Linked DNA regions of Homo sapiens: region 1 is linked to region 2. Evidence: promoter capture Hi-C in 16 types of primary human blood cells and fetal thymus (Javierre and others, 2016). All regions are on one chromosome and are shown on one strand. Each heading gives the region's core, a stretch centred on a gene start or on the middle of the fragment in contact. The rest is flanking DNA. Distances are from core to core; before and after follow the strand shown. Region 1 holds the start of OR10T2 (olfactory receptor family 10 subfamily T member 2). Region 2 holds the start of CD1E (CD1e molecule).

The links. Contacts are between HindIII fragments. The CHiCAGO score rates a contact against its expected background, and 5 or more counts as called.
Region 1: a fragment that was not itself captured here is called in contact with the fragment with the promoter of CD1E in region 2 in 1 of 17 cell types (fetal thymus); the score reaches 6.8 in fetal thymus.

What each region holds. Positions count from the first base shown.
Region 1 is chr1:158,397,596-158,403,791 of GRCh38, forward strand. It overlaps OR10T2 (olfactory receptor family 10 subfamily T member 2), which reads right to left and starts at 1,871. Exons shown (of 1, transcript NM_001004475.1): 1 at 927-1,871. The coding sequence starts at 1,871. The coding sequence ends at 927. The HindIII fragment of the contact is 1,286 bases long and covers 3,649-4,934 here.
Region 2 is chr1:158,348,612-158,355,164 of GRCh38, forward strand. It overlaps CD1E (CD1e molecule), which reads left to right and starts at 5,283. Exons shown (of 6, transcript NM_030893.4): 1 at 5,283-5,435; 2 at 5,766-6,062. The coding sequence starts at 5,378. The HindIII fragment of the contact is 6,143 bases long and covers 1-6,033 here.

The sequences.
Region 1 (6,196 bases), core at 3,042-5,541, 48 kb after region 2:
TATGATCATCATAGAGATTATGGCCATTTTTGCCTCTTCAGAGCACTGTGTTCTATTTGATCATCAAGCATGAGGATGTCATTATTGTTTATTTTTAGTCTATTATTAAATAAAATTACATGATCTGAAAGACTTAAACATATAGCTAAGTGAAAACAAAACAAGAACTATAAATAAAAATAATGTTTAACTTATGATTAACATAATAAAAATCTAGAATTATCAACAATTCTGATAATATCGACTAACATTTTTGTCACTGTAAAACCCAGTTTCTTAGTATTAATATCTTGTTCTCCATTTAAGGCCCAGTTTAAATTTTCTCTCCCTTCTTTTCATCCCACTTATTCTAAATCTTTTTCTCTTTCAGATGGAATAAATACTCATTCCTTTGATTCTCATAACTTTTATTTATATTCTTTTAACTGATCTGATTATCTTGCATTATCATATTTTTTTCAGTGTTCATCTTTTCACCTAACCAGTCCCAACCACCATAAACTATACATTTGTTCATTTTAATTTTTCCTCTTTGAATGGGACTTGGTACACAGATGAATGTATTACTAGATGAATGCCTGTGTCCCGGATAAAAATGCTTCCAGCCACTTCAGACTCTGTTCTGTCTCTCCAACTGGAAAAGCAATTCTTGTCCTTATATTTGTTTTGGTTGTGTCTTTCCTTGAAAAACTCTCATGCTTTTCTCTTTTTGCCAAGTGTGAATTCTTTTTTTTTAACTAGACATCGGACAATATAGAGTGTAGATTGACTTGCATTTTTTTTCTTTTTGGAATAGGAGAAAATAAAAAGGCAAGAGTAGTCTTAATCCTTGGAAACACTGTCTGAGACATGCATTAAAGGTCAGAAAATTTTATGCCTTTGATTTCTTCTGTGACTATCCTAGTTAATTTTATTATTATTTTTTGTTAGCTCATCTTGGTTGCCACAGGCATTCCAAGAACTCTTTTCAATGCAGTTTTTACCTCTTTGTTCCTCAGACTGTAGACAAGAGGATTAAGTAAGGGAGTAACCACTGTGTAGGTCACTGCCACCAACTGATCCTTGTCTGAGGCAGACTTGGACTTGGGCCGCAGATAGATGATAGAGGCACAGCCATAGTGGACAAAGACCACAGTGAGATGTGAGGCACAGGTGACAAAGGCCTTCTTGCCCTCAGCTGAGGGGATCTTCAGGATGGTGTTAACTATGAAGCCATAGGATATGAGAATTAACAGAAAAGGCACCATAATTACCAGGATGCTGAGGCTAAATAAAGCCAGCTCTTTCACATGGGTGTCAGTGCAGGCTAACTTGATAACAGGTGCCATGTCACAGAAATAGTGGTTAACCCTGTTGGGGCCACAAAAACGCATGTCACAAATGAGGTTGGTGGCCACCAAAGCAATAAAGAAACCTGTGGCTCCTGAGAGAGAAATCAACTCCAACCCCAGCCTTTTGTTTATGATGAGTGTGTACCTCAGAGGGTGACAAATTGCTACATAGCGATCATATCCCATCACAGCAATGAGGAGGCAGTTGGTGCAAGCAAAGCCAAGGAAAAAGAACAGCTGGGTGGCACAGGCCATGAAGGAGATGGTCTTGGTGTCTGAGAGCAGGTGGACCAGCAGCTGAGGGATGATGACAAAAGTGTAGCAGGACTCAGAAAATGAAAGGATGAATAGAAAGCCATACATGGGAGTGTGGAGAGTCCAGCTGAAGCGAATAACGGCCATGATGGTCACATTGGCCACCAGGATTGTCAAGTATAGGAGAAGAAAGATGACAAAAAGCAGCAGCTGGAGCTCCCCCAGGCTGGAGAAACCCACCAGGATGAACTGTGTAACCACAGTGGTTTTGTTGAAACCTCGCATCTGAAGAACTTCTTTCTGTGAATGTGTTTGAAAGAGACAAAATGATAACTATCTTTGTAATACGAACATTTTCCCAACGCCTTCACTTTAAGTATATTGTCAGATTCATAATGTTAACATCTCTTTCTCTTAGTCTATCTAGATATAGATGCCTCTTTAATGATTTTTCCAAAAAATTATTAATCTGAAGTAACAGAGAAATGATTATCTACAGTATATAAATACCCCAAAGTTAAAAGGATCCAACTATTTGACAAAGTGAAAAAATTCTCTCAGTTTAAGAAGAACATTACCTTTAATATGGAATAGAAAATTTAAATTATTTTTCTTGTACTGTATGTATTTGGTCCTTGGATGTATATTCTATCCTAGTAATTTGGTTTCTTTTCCTAATATCACAATCCATTTAATTAGCATTATTGTAAAGGCATTAAAACACTGTGCCTCAGAGCATGAACTCAGGAACAAGAATGCTAGAGTTTGAAACTTGCCTTTGCCACTTAGAGCTATGAACTTCAGTGTGACAATTTTTGTCATTTGTAAGACATAAATAATAATAGAACATATTATATAGGATTGTTGTAAGAACTTAGATGGTATCAGTAAAGTACTTGAAACAGCACTTAACACATAGTAACTCCAATCTATGTGTCAGCTGCTTATGCAGTTAAGGAGTTGAGAGGCAAATATCCTGGTTTGATATTTGAACACTAGAAGAGCCTGGATCCTTAAATCAGGACAGAGTTTCCCTGCATTTGACTCAAGTGTTCTTATCCTTGAGATTCTTTTTTTAAAATTGAGCAAAAATTTAAATATGCACAGTTAAAGAAAGAACTGTTACTTTTACATTAAAAATTATTTTCTTTTTAATTTATTTTTTATTAGCAACTAATAATTATACCTATTTATGGGGTATTATGTGATGTTTGGATACATGTATACATTGTGGGATGATTAAATCAGGGTTCTTTAATAAATCTGCCCTTTTTTATCTAAGGAGTCTATAGCCTTTGAATTCTCTTTCATGATTCTATGACATTTGTTCTGTATGTTTCTGGAACTGTGAAGGGACCCAAGTGTAAAACCTGGGTCACAAGGTTATGATGTATCTGTCTATGAAACAAAATAGATTGATGATCACTAGGGATAGGGGTGGAGCAGGAAGACTTAGGTTAAGTCTTCTCTCTATTGAAGAAAGGAGAGGAAATAACGTGAACACACCTTGAATCTCTTGCAAATAAAATAGCCAGAAAGTGCTAAATGGAAAGAGAAGAGCCTATCTCAGGAACTTCCCATTATTTTATAGTCTAGGTTATTCCTCCTCCCAGAGCCCTAATCATTTTTACTTTCAGAATCAGCTTCAGAGATTCAGGAGAAACCAGATGTAATATTTGCACAACTCAACATCTCCCAACTTGTTGGCTACTTTAATGGCTATAAGATGTTAGGAGTTGTTTGACATGACACACTTGAGTTTGTTCATTGTTCATCATCTCTGTTGTGGTTTATTTGCTTAGGTAGTTCCACACACCTGCTACAACAGCTTTTTCCTTTGTTTCAGACCTTGCGGAAAATAAGATGCTTTCATGTAAGCTACTTCATTTTGACTCTAACATCCTGGTAGATAGCAAAAGTGTCTGTCGCTATCTCACGGGTAAGGCAAGTGTACTAAGTGCCCTCTCCTGGGCAGAGTAACCCATGAACATCCTCATCCTTGCATTTAACATGTTGCATTGAACATACCTCTTTATATATTTGGCACTCTTTATAGATTATAAGCTTCTCACATGCAGGAATAACTTTTTTTAATTAAAAAATGAGTCCCTAGAATATAGCATAGTTTGTGATTTATCATGTGCTCAAATATTTTGACTTGATTAGAATGTCAAAAATTAAATAATATGCTCAAGTGGTAGATCCAGTATCAGAATTCAAGTCTTCTAACTTCAAATCCACTTTCTACTTACCAAATTTTATGGCACCCATTCTTTACCTTGTGAGAAGATGATCTGCTCATATACTTTTTCCAAGGGATGAAAGCATAGTTCCACACTGCTTGTTCAAGTAAAACTTATTTGAACATTTCTGACTTTTCTGGAATAATCCAATTTTAATTATCCAAGTTTTTGAATTATCAAATTTTACAATATGAGCTTTATTCTCTTTAATCTTAATATTAGGGAGATAAGAAAAAAAGGAAAAAGGGGTAGGAAAGTAGGCAAATCAACGATATGATTGATGAAAACACTCAAAGGCAAGGAAGGTCAAGAGGATGTTGCTTAATTTCAATCACAGTTTTATGAACCAAACAAATTGCAATGTCTCCCTAAATCATTAGCTTCTTTTTCTGTGACTTTCATGAGAATTTTGTTAAATAAAAAATATCCTCTAATCTTGTCCTCAACACTAGTACTGCTTCTATATCTTTTTTCAGGTTGCTTCATATACTTGTTTTGCCCATTGTTTTTCATATTCAAATCCCTGTCATGTCCCATGTTCTCCAATAAACCTTCCCTGCCTACTAGAGTCCATACAGATGCTCATTCTCTTCATAGCCCTTAGGGACTTTAAAATCATGCATGTATGGGAACAGGTTAGGTAATATCTTGTATTACTTTATAACCAATTTGCCTATGTGGATGCCTCATAACCTTACTTACATTCTTTCTTTGAGGCAGGGGGCATAGCAACGTATTCTAAACAATCCGCAGCAGCTGCAAACAATACTGGGCACACAACAGACACTAATTAAATACTTAATAAATTATGGCATGGTTTATTTCATTCTTCTTTTGTTTATGAGTTTTCTCATCTGCTATTTTTTTCTGGAATATATTCTTTGTTCTACTATAATCCGTATTATTTTTAAATTTTTATTTTTTTTCAAAATCATCTTTTACTTTAAAAGGAGAAATCTACACTGCTGAGTTTTCCTGCCTTTCTAGTTACTTCTGTTGCTTGACATCTCAGCATTTAAATTTGATATATTAAGATGGGGTGGGTGTATATGTGTGTGTGTGTATATGTGTCTGTATCTGTGTGTGTGCACTCTAGCAGAGTGGAAGCTTTTTCATTTCAAGAAAAGAGCAAATAAAGTTTTACTTTGGCTCAGAATCCTTTTTATAACAATAAAAACTGCTAATGAATTCACACCTGAATTTTTGGTAGAAAATATTTCTTTCTTTAGATAGTAACTGACAAAGAAAATAGACTTACCTACTTATGTTCAAAAGATCAAGGAAGCTGCCATATGACTTTGTTGACTTATACTCTGGTAGGTCTTTTAAATATTGAAAGAGGCAGCAGAAAGTCAGTTGTAAAATCAATGACATCTGTCCCAGAAGATTAAATAATTGGAAGAAAATGCACTGAAGCATTTCATAAAGGGCTTATATGGAGACTTAGTTGTCCAAACCTTTTTAAGTCTTAAATAAGAGCTGAAAATAGTCTGGTTTATATTAATATGTCAATTCAGATTCTATATAATTGTATTTGAGAGTATTTATAGCCTTCTGGGATTCTAAGGAGTAAGGCCTTCTGAGACTTAGTAAGAGCTAAAACAAGAGAGGAAATAAATGACTAACCTTGAACAAGGACATATTATTTAATACCAGAAGAAAAAAATTCAAATGGCAATAAAACATTCCATCTCTGCAAAGAACTACAAGTGTAGATAAGTATTCTAGTGATTTTCTGACATCAAGACTACAAAATGTTGAAATGCCAGGAGAAGCCAAATTCTCCAACCAGGAGATATACAATAAAACTGCCTTGATAAGGCCTAAGAGATGAAGGCAGGGGTTGGTGAGTGCTGGTTGCTTGGCACTTTTGGGAATTACCTAAGTAGTCTCTGTTCTCCTAAATCAAAACCTGGAAAAAATTCAAATAACTGGATTTCTTAATTCTGTCCTAGGAATTATTGTAAGGAAATGACTTTCATCGAGGAACCATTCATTGAGTACCATGATTTAGAGAGCAGGATATGAGACATTATAGTGATACAAAGATAAAATGTATGAATTGATCTGCTCTAGTAGAGAAGACAGATGTAAGCAGAGCTATGTGTAATAAGAGGTAAAATGATGTTCAGTGTTATTGTGACATTAACAACAGGGCAGCTACAAGGATGAGCACCCCCAGCAGGGATTGCCTTGACCACAGCCAGGGCCGAGATTCAGCAAATGACTTCATGAATAAAAACATTCTGGAATAATAAGCCAAGTAGAAATATAAGAATTAGGAATAAAAAGTCAATACTGAATGTTTTGTGCCTAGGACACTCAAAGGAAAAAGGAGTGAGGAGGAAGACTGAGAACTATTTCTTG
Region 2 (6,553 bases), core at 4,033-6,532:
AAGTAGTCTGTTTTGACAGGGTGCTGATTGGCGAGTTTACAATCCCTGAGCTAGACACAAATGTTCTCCACGTCCCCACCAGATTAGCTAGATACAGAGTGTGGACACAAAGGTTCTCCAAGGCCCCACCAGAGTAGCTAGATACAGAGTGTTCATTGGTGCATTCACAAACCCTGAGCTAGACACAGGGTGCTGATTGGTGTGTTTACAAACCTTGAGCTAGAGACAGAATGCCAATTGGTGTATTTACAATCCCTGAGCTAGACATAAAGATTCTCCACGTTCCCACCAGACTCAGGATCCCAGCTGGCTTCACCTAGTGGATCCTGCACTGGGGCTGCAGATGGAGCTGCCTGCCAGTCCCCCGCCGTGAACCCGCACTCCTCAGCCCTTGGGTGGTTGATGGGACTGGGCGCCGTGGAGCAGGGGGCTGCGCTCATCGGGGAGGCTCCGGCCGCACAGGAGCCCATGGAGGGGGTGGGAGTCTCAGGCATGGCGGGCTGCAGGTCCCGAGCCCTGCCCCACGGGGAGGCAGCTAAGGCCTGGTGAGAAATCAAGCACAGCGCTGGTGGGCTGGCACTGCTGGGGGATCCAGTACACCCTCCGCAGCCGCTGGCCCGGGTGCTAAGTCTCTCATTGCTCGGGGCCGGCAGGGCCGGCTGGCTGCTCCGAGTGCAGGCCCGCCAAGCCCACGCCCACCCTGCACTCCAGCTGGAACCGCCCGCAGCCCAGGTTCCCGCTCGCGCCTCTCCCTCCACACCTCCCTGCAAGCTGAGGGAGCCGGCTCCGGCCTTGGCCAGCCCAGAAAGGGGCTCCTACAGTGCAGCGGCGGGCTGAAAGGCTTCTCAAGTGCTGCCAAAGTGGGAGCCCAGGCAGAGGAGGCACCGAGAGCAAGCAAGGTCTGTGAGGACTGCCAGCACGCTGTCACCTCTCAATGCCACTGCACTCCAGCCTGGGTGACAGAGTGAGAATCCGTCTCAAAAAGAAAAAAAAAAGAAAAAATGTAACTATGTGAAGTGATGGATATGGTAATAACTTGACTGTGGCGATTACTTCACAGTATATACATATATCATAACATCATGTTGTGCACCTTAAGTATACCCAATTTAAAAAAAATTAAGGTAGAATATAAATATATAATTTATCATCTTCACCATTTTAAAATGTACAGCTCAGTGGCAATAAATACTTTTTTATACTCAATTTTTATTTGTTGGTTGTACCTCACTAAAGCTGAAAAATATATTTGAATAAATGTTAAAGAAATGTAAGTATACACAAACAAGAAAATAAGTATGTAGAAATTGCAATCTTTCCTGAAAATAAGCCAAAAGAATAAAACTCGTATTTAAATTCTTTGAAAAAAAATTAGCAGATGGAACATTTTCTTACATTTGTACAAATGTACTCAAAAATTTTATTTTAAATCAATTTTAATGAGTTATCTCCCATAAATTTCTTACATAGAAAGATTAAGTTGTCCAAAGGCACATCTTATAATATGTTTTGAGAGAATTTTCTGGTTTTGGCAAAAGGGGATCTGCGAATGTGACTGGGGCAGCCTCAGGAAAACATAAGAGGGGGAATTTCTTTTTAAAAGAGACCTCTGGCCACAGACACTAAGTATTTTTAGTAAAAAATGTGGTTAGGCACTGATGGAATATTTTTTTTTTTTTTTTTTTTGAGACGGAGTCTTTCTCTGTTGCCCAGGCTGGAGTGCAGTGGCACAATCTTGGCTCACTGCAACCTCTGCCTCCCAGGTTCAAGCGATTCTCTTGCCTCAGCTTCTCGAATAGCTGGGACCATAGGCACGTGCCACCACGCCCTGCTAATTTTTTTGTATTTTTAGTAGAGAGGGGTTTCACCGTGTTAGCCAGGATGGTCTCGATCTCCTGACCTCCTGATCTGCCTGCCTCGGCCTCCCAAAGTGCTGGGATTACAGGAGTGAGCCACTGTGCCTGGCCCACTGATGGAATTTTGTAAAGCAGGAAGGAAATAATTGTACCATATAATGTTACAAAAATTAAAATTAATATATATTTTTTCTTTGGAATTTATCTTCTGGATAATTTTAATTTAGAAGGAATTTCATTATTTTGTTAATGATTATGGGGTTGCTGTCAGACATTATTTCTACTTTGCTCAGTAATTTGCAGTTATCTGTGAGTTCTGTAGCCTCAAAATTAAAAACTAGGGTGTGGTTATCTTTACTTACATAAAAGTGCAATTTTTTGTGGAATAACAACATTGTTTTATTCTCTAAATATACTTTGCTTTATTTTACTTTGCAAATGATTTTAAAATTCTCCCTCTTTTTTTTTTTTTTGAAACAGAGTCACACTCTCCTGCCCAGGATGTAGTACAGTGGCACAATCTCAGTTCCCTGCAATCTCCACCTCCTAGGCTCAAGCAATTCTCCTGCCTCAGCCTCCTGAGTAGCTGGAATTACAGGCACACATCATGGCACCTGGCTAATTTTTACTTTTTTTGGTAGAGACAGGGTTTCGCCATGTTGGCAAGGCTGGTCTCGAATTCGCCTGCCTTGGCTTCCCAAAGTGCTGGGATTACGGGTGTGAGCCACCGTGCCTGGCCTGATTCAAAAATTCTAATGGCCGGGGCACGGTTGCTCACGCCTGTAATCTCAGCACTTTGGGAGGCCGAGGCGGGTGGATCACGAGGTCAGGAGATCGAGACCGTCTTGGTCAACATGAAGAAACCCTGTCTCTACTAAAAATACAAAAAATAGATGGTCATGGTGGCTCTTGCCTGTAATCCCAGCTGCTCAGGAGGCTGAGGCAGGAGAGTCGTTTGAACCAGGGATTCGGGGGTTGCAATGAGCCGAGATCCTGTGGCTGCACTGCAGCCTGGGCAACAGAGCAAGACAGCAAGACTCCGTCTCAGGAAAAAACAAAACAAAACAAAAATTCTAAGGAATACAGTTACTTGTAGTATTGATGTTTGGCATAGGTCATTCCAATCTTTTTATTATGTATTATTGTTTTTGTAGGTTATTATATATTCTCTTGAATATTTATCTTTGTTTACTGTTCATAATTTTATTATGAAACCAATTTTGGATTTACATAGCGATTTATAGATAGATTTACATAGCAACTTATAGCTTTGAATGTATTTGTAGAAAAGAAAGAGTATTGAAAATAAATGTAGACATTCTACTCAGGAAACAAGGAAACTTTTTTTAATCTTTCTTTAACCTTAGAATTTAGAAATGATAATAAGATGAAACTAGGTTTGGACCTTTTTCTTTTGTTTTTTTGTTTGCAGTTTTTTTTTCTTTTTTTAATTATTTTTATTTATTTATTTATTTTTTATTATTATACTTTAAGTTCTAGGGTACATGTGCACAACGTGAAGGTTTGTTACATATGTATACATGTGTCGTGTTGGTGTGCTGCACCCATTAACTCGTCATTTACATTAGGTATATCTCTTAATGCTATCCCTCCCCCCTCCCCCCACCCCACAACAGGCCCCGGTGTGTGATGTTCCTCTTCCTGTGTCCATGTGTTCTCATTGTTCAATTCCCACCTATGAGTGAGAACATGCGGTGTTTGGTTTTTTGTCCTTGTGATAGTTTGCTGAGAATGATGGTTTCCAGCTTCATCCATGTCCCTACAAAGGACATGAACTCATCATTTTTTATGGCTGCATAGTATTTCATGGTGTATATGTGCCACATTTTCTTAATCCAGTCTATCATTGTTGGACATTTGGGTTGGTTCCAAGTCTTTGTTATTGTGAATAGTGCCACAATAAACATACGTGTGCATGTGTCTTTATAGCAACATGATTTATAATCCTTTGTGTATATACCCAGTAATGGGATGGCTGGGTCAAATGGTATTTCTAGTTCTAGATCCCTGAGGAATCGCCACCCTGACTTCCACAATGGTTGAACTAGTTTACAGTCCCACCAACAGTGTAAAAGTGTTCCTATTTCTCCACATCCTCTCCAGCACCTCTCCAGCACAGAAAGAGTATTGAAAATAAATGTAGATATTCTACTCAGGAAACAAGGAAACTTTTTATCTTTCTTTTAACTTAGAATTTAGAAATGATAATAAGATGAAACTAGGTTTGGACCTTTTTCAATAATTCTGACCACCGTTCAGTAAATTTACTGTATAAGAAAAGTAGAGGTTTGGGGTTGAATTTTGTTTTATTTTTTCCCAAAGATGTCTATCTCTGATATCTTAGGGCCTGGCAATTGTTTTTGGTCATAGGTGGGCTCTGAATAAATGTCAGTTGAACAAATATATAAAAACCAAACAAAGGAATGTTATTTCAACTGCCTTCAGAGTGTCACAACAAATATCAATGAAAAAGAAACAAAAATAAAGACTCAATTAATTCTCCAGTGAACACTTCAGTCCTCTAAAGGTACTTCCCTGTGTCCACCCAAACTGCTCTCTAACCGAACGCAAGCAAGGGGACTCCAATGCTCTCAGGCCATGAACTAATGAGGAGCTTCATGCCTGCCCTCAGTCTTTCTTCATACCCAGGGCAAAGCTGGCCCACAGACTTCCAGACATGCTTTCTTCGTTTGGGTAGAGATGGGGATCCAAGTCCCCTATGTATTTCCTCCAGAGCCACCTGTAAAACATGGGTGAAATCTACCTGCCCTCTAGCTCACCACTTCCAGGTCAAGCCCACTCATGGACCACTTTAACAGTGACAGTTGGCTTGACTGGGGAAACTGAAAAAAAGGAGCTTTCTTTAGATTTTCTGATAATCTGCATTGCCATTGCTGCTCCTTTTTCAGCAGCACAGAGAGTTGGATTATGGAGGGTTGCCTGCTTATTATGCAGCTACATCCAGGATGCTGAGTGTCTTCTGATCATGATCAAGAGCAGAGTGAAGAGATACAGGCGGAGGAGAGGATCACAGAGAGGTAGAAGTGGGAGACTGGTGGATAGGTCACTAGGCACCACTGAGTGACTACCATCACTTCTCACAGATTAGATTATTGACAAGCCAAGTATGGATTTGATTTCTACAAGGCCAAAAGCTACTCCATCTTCTAGCCAGACCACAGACTTTGTTTTAAGCCAGGACTCGTTTTCCAGCAGTTAGTGCAATTAGGGAGGTTGGGAGGATGTACACAAGAGCAGGGAGAAAATCTGGAGCCAGACAGTGAGAGAGGCAGAGGGGAAATGAAAAACCCCGTGGGAGGCTGCAGCAAAGCGAGGCAGTGTGGCTTCTCTGACAGGGAAGTCAGCAGAGGGAGAGGTTTGTCTGTCTGTACAGCAAGGGAAGTCAGACGAGAGTGCAAGAGGGTGTGGAGAGGGGTACTGATATCTGAATTATTAGGGCAGGTGTCCTGCCAAGGAATCCCTCCTTTAACAGAGCTTCAATGCTGCTCCTGTTCCTCCTCTTCGAGGGTCTCTGCTGTCCTGGGGAAAATACAGCAGGTAAGAAGAGTGCAGGTGGAAAGATACCTATGGTAGGGCACCAGAGGGCTGAGAGGAAGCTCTGGGGAGGTCCTGGGGGAAGGGAGCAGTACTCTTCTAGGATGCCCTTGGAATATGCCTTTCAGGCTAGTTCCAGGCAGAGAATTCTTGCTCTCAGTCTCAGTTTTTGTCTCTGATTTTGGAGAAAGGAAGCTGGCCCCACAGGAAAAGGGTATTGGAGTATGTACAAGCTACCTAACTGTCTCTCATCTCTGGGTTCCTTTTTTCCCTTTGGCATCACTTTTCCCATCCCTTTACATTCTCTCTACTTGTCATTTCCCTCTCTCTCAGCTCCCCAGGCTCTACAATCCTATCATCTAGCAGCAGAGGAGCAGCTGTCCTTCCGCATGCTCCAAACTTCCTCCTTTGCCAACCACAGCTGGGCACACAGTGAGGGCTCAGGATGGCTGGGTGACCTGCAGACTCATGGCTGGGACACTGTCTTGGGCACCATCCGCTTTCTGAAGCCCTGGTCCCATGGAAACTTCAGCAAGCAGGAGCTGAAAAACTTACAGTCACTGTTCCAGTTATACTTCCATAGTTTTATCCAGATAGTGCAAGCTTCTGCTGGTCAATTTCAGCTTGAATGTAAGTTCGTTGCTCTAAGCTGATAATTTGCCTGGGAACACCAACTATTTTCCAAAGTGGAAGATAGTATATAGACTCTGACCATCATTTAACCTTACTAACCTTGTTCCCCACTCTCTGACTCCCACTCCCTCCTCTGCTTCACCCTTCACCACCACCCACACTCCACCATATACACAAAAGGGCCTGCATGTACATATCTCAACATGAATATAGCTTCATGTCTGGCTCTTTGGAATGATTGTCTCCTCTGGATCTTCTGCCCCTCATTCCTGCCCTCAGACTCAGCCTTTCTCAACCCTCTTTCTGCCCTTCTTTATCCTTTGCCTGAGTGTTGACATGGACTGGCCTGTACCTAACCACTTTCACGTGAATTATTTATGACCAATCTCCTATCTTCCTGATAGCCTTCCCATCTACCACTTTCCCATTAGTTATTTCAAAGTATCTTTATTATCTTCAAATTTTCTTCCCACAAATTTTCTTCCCCT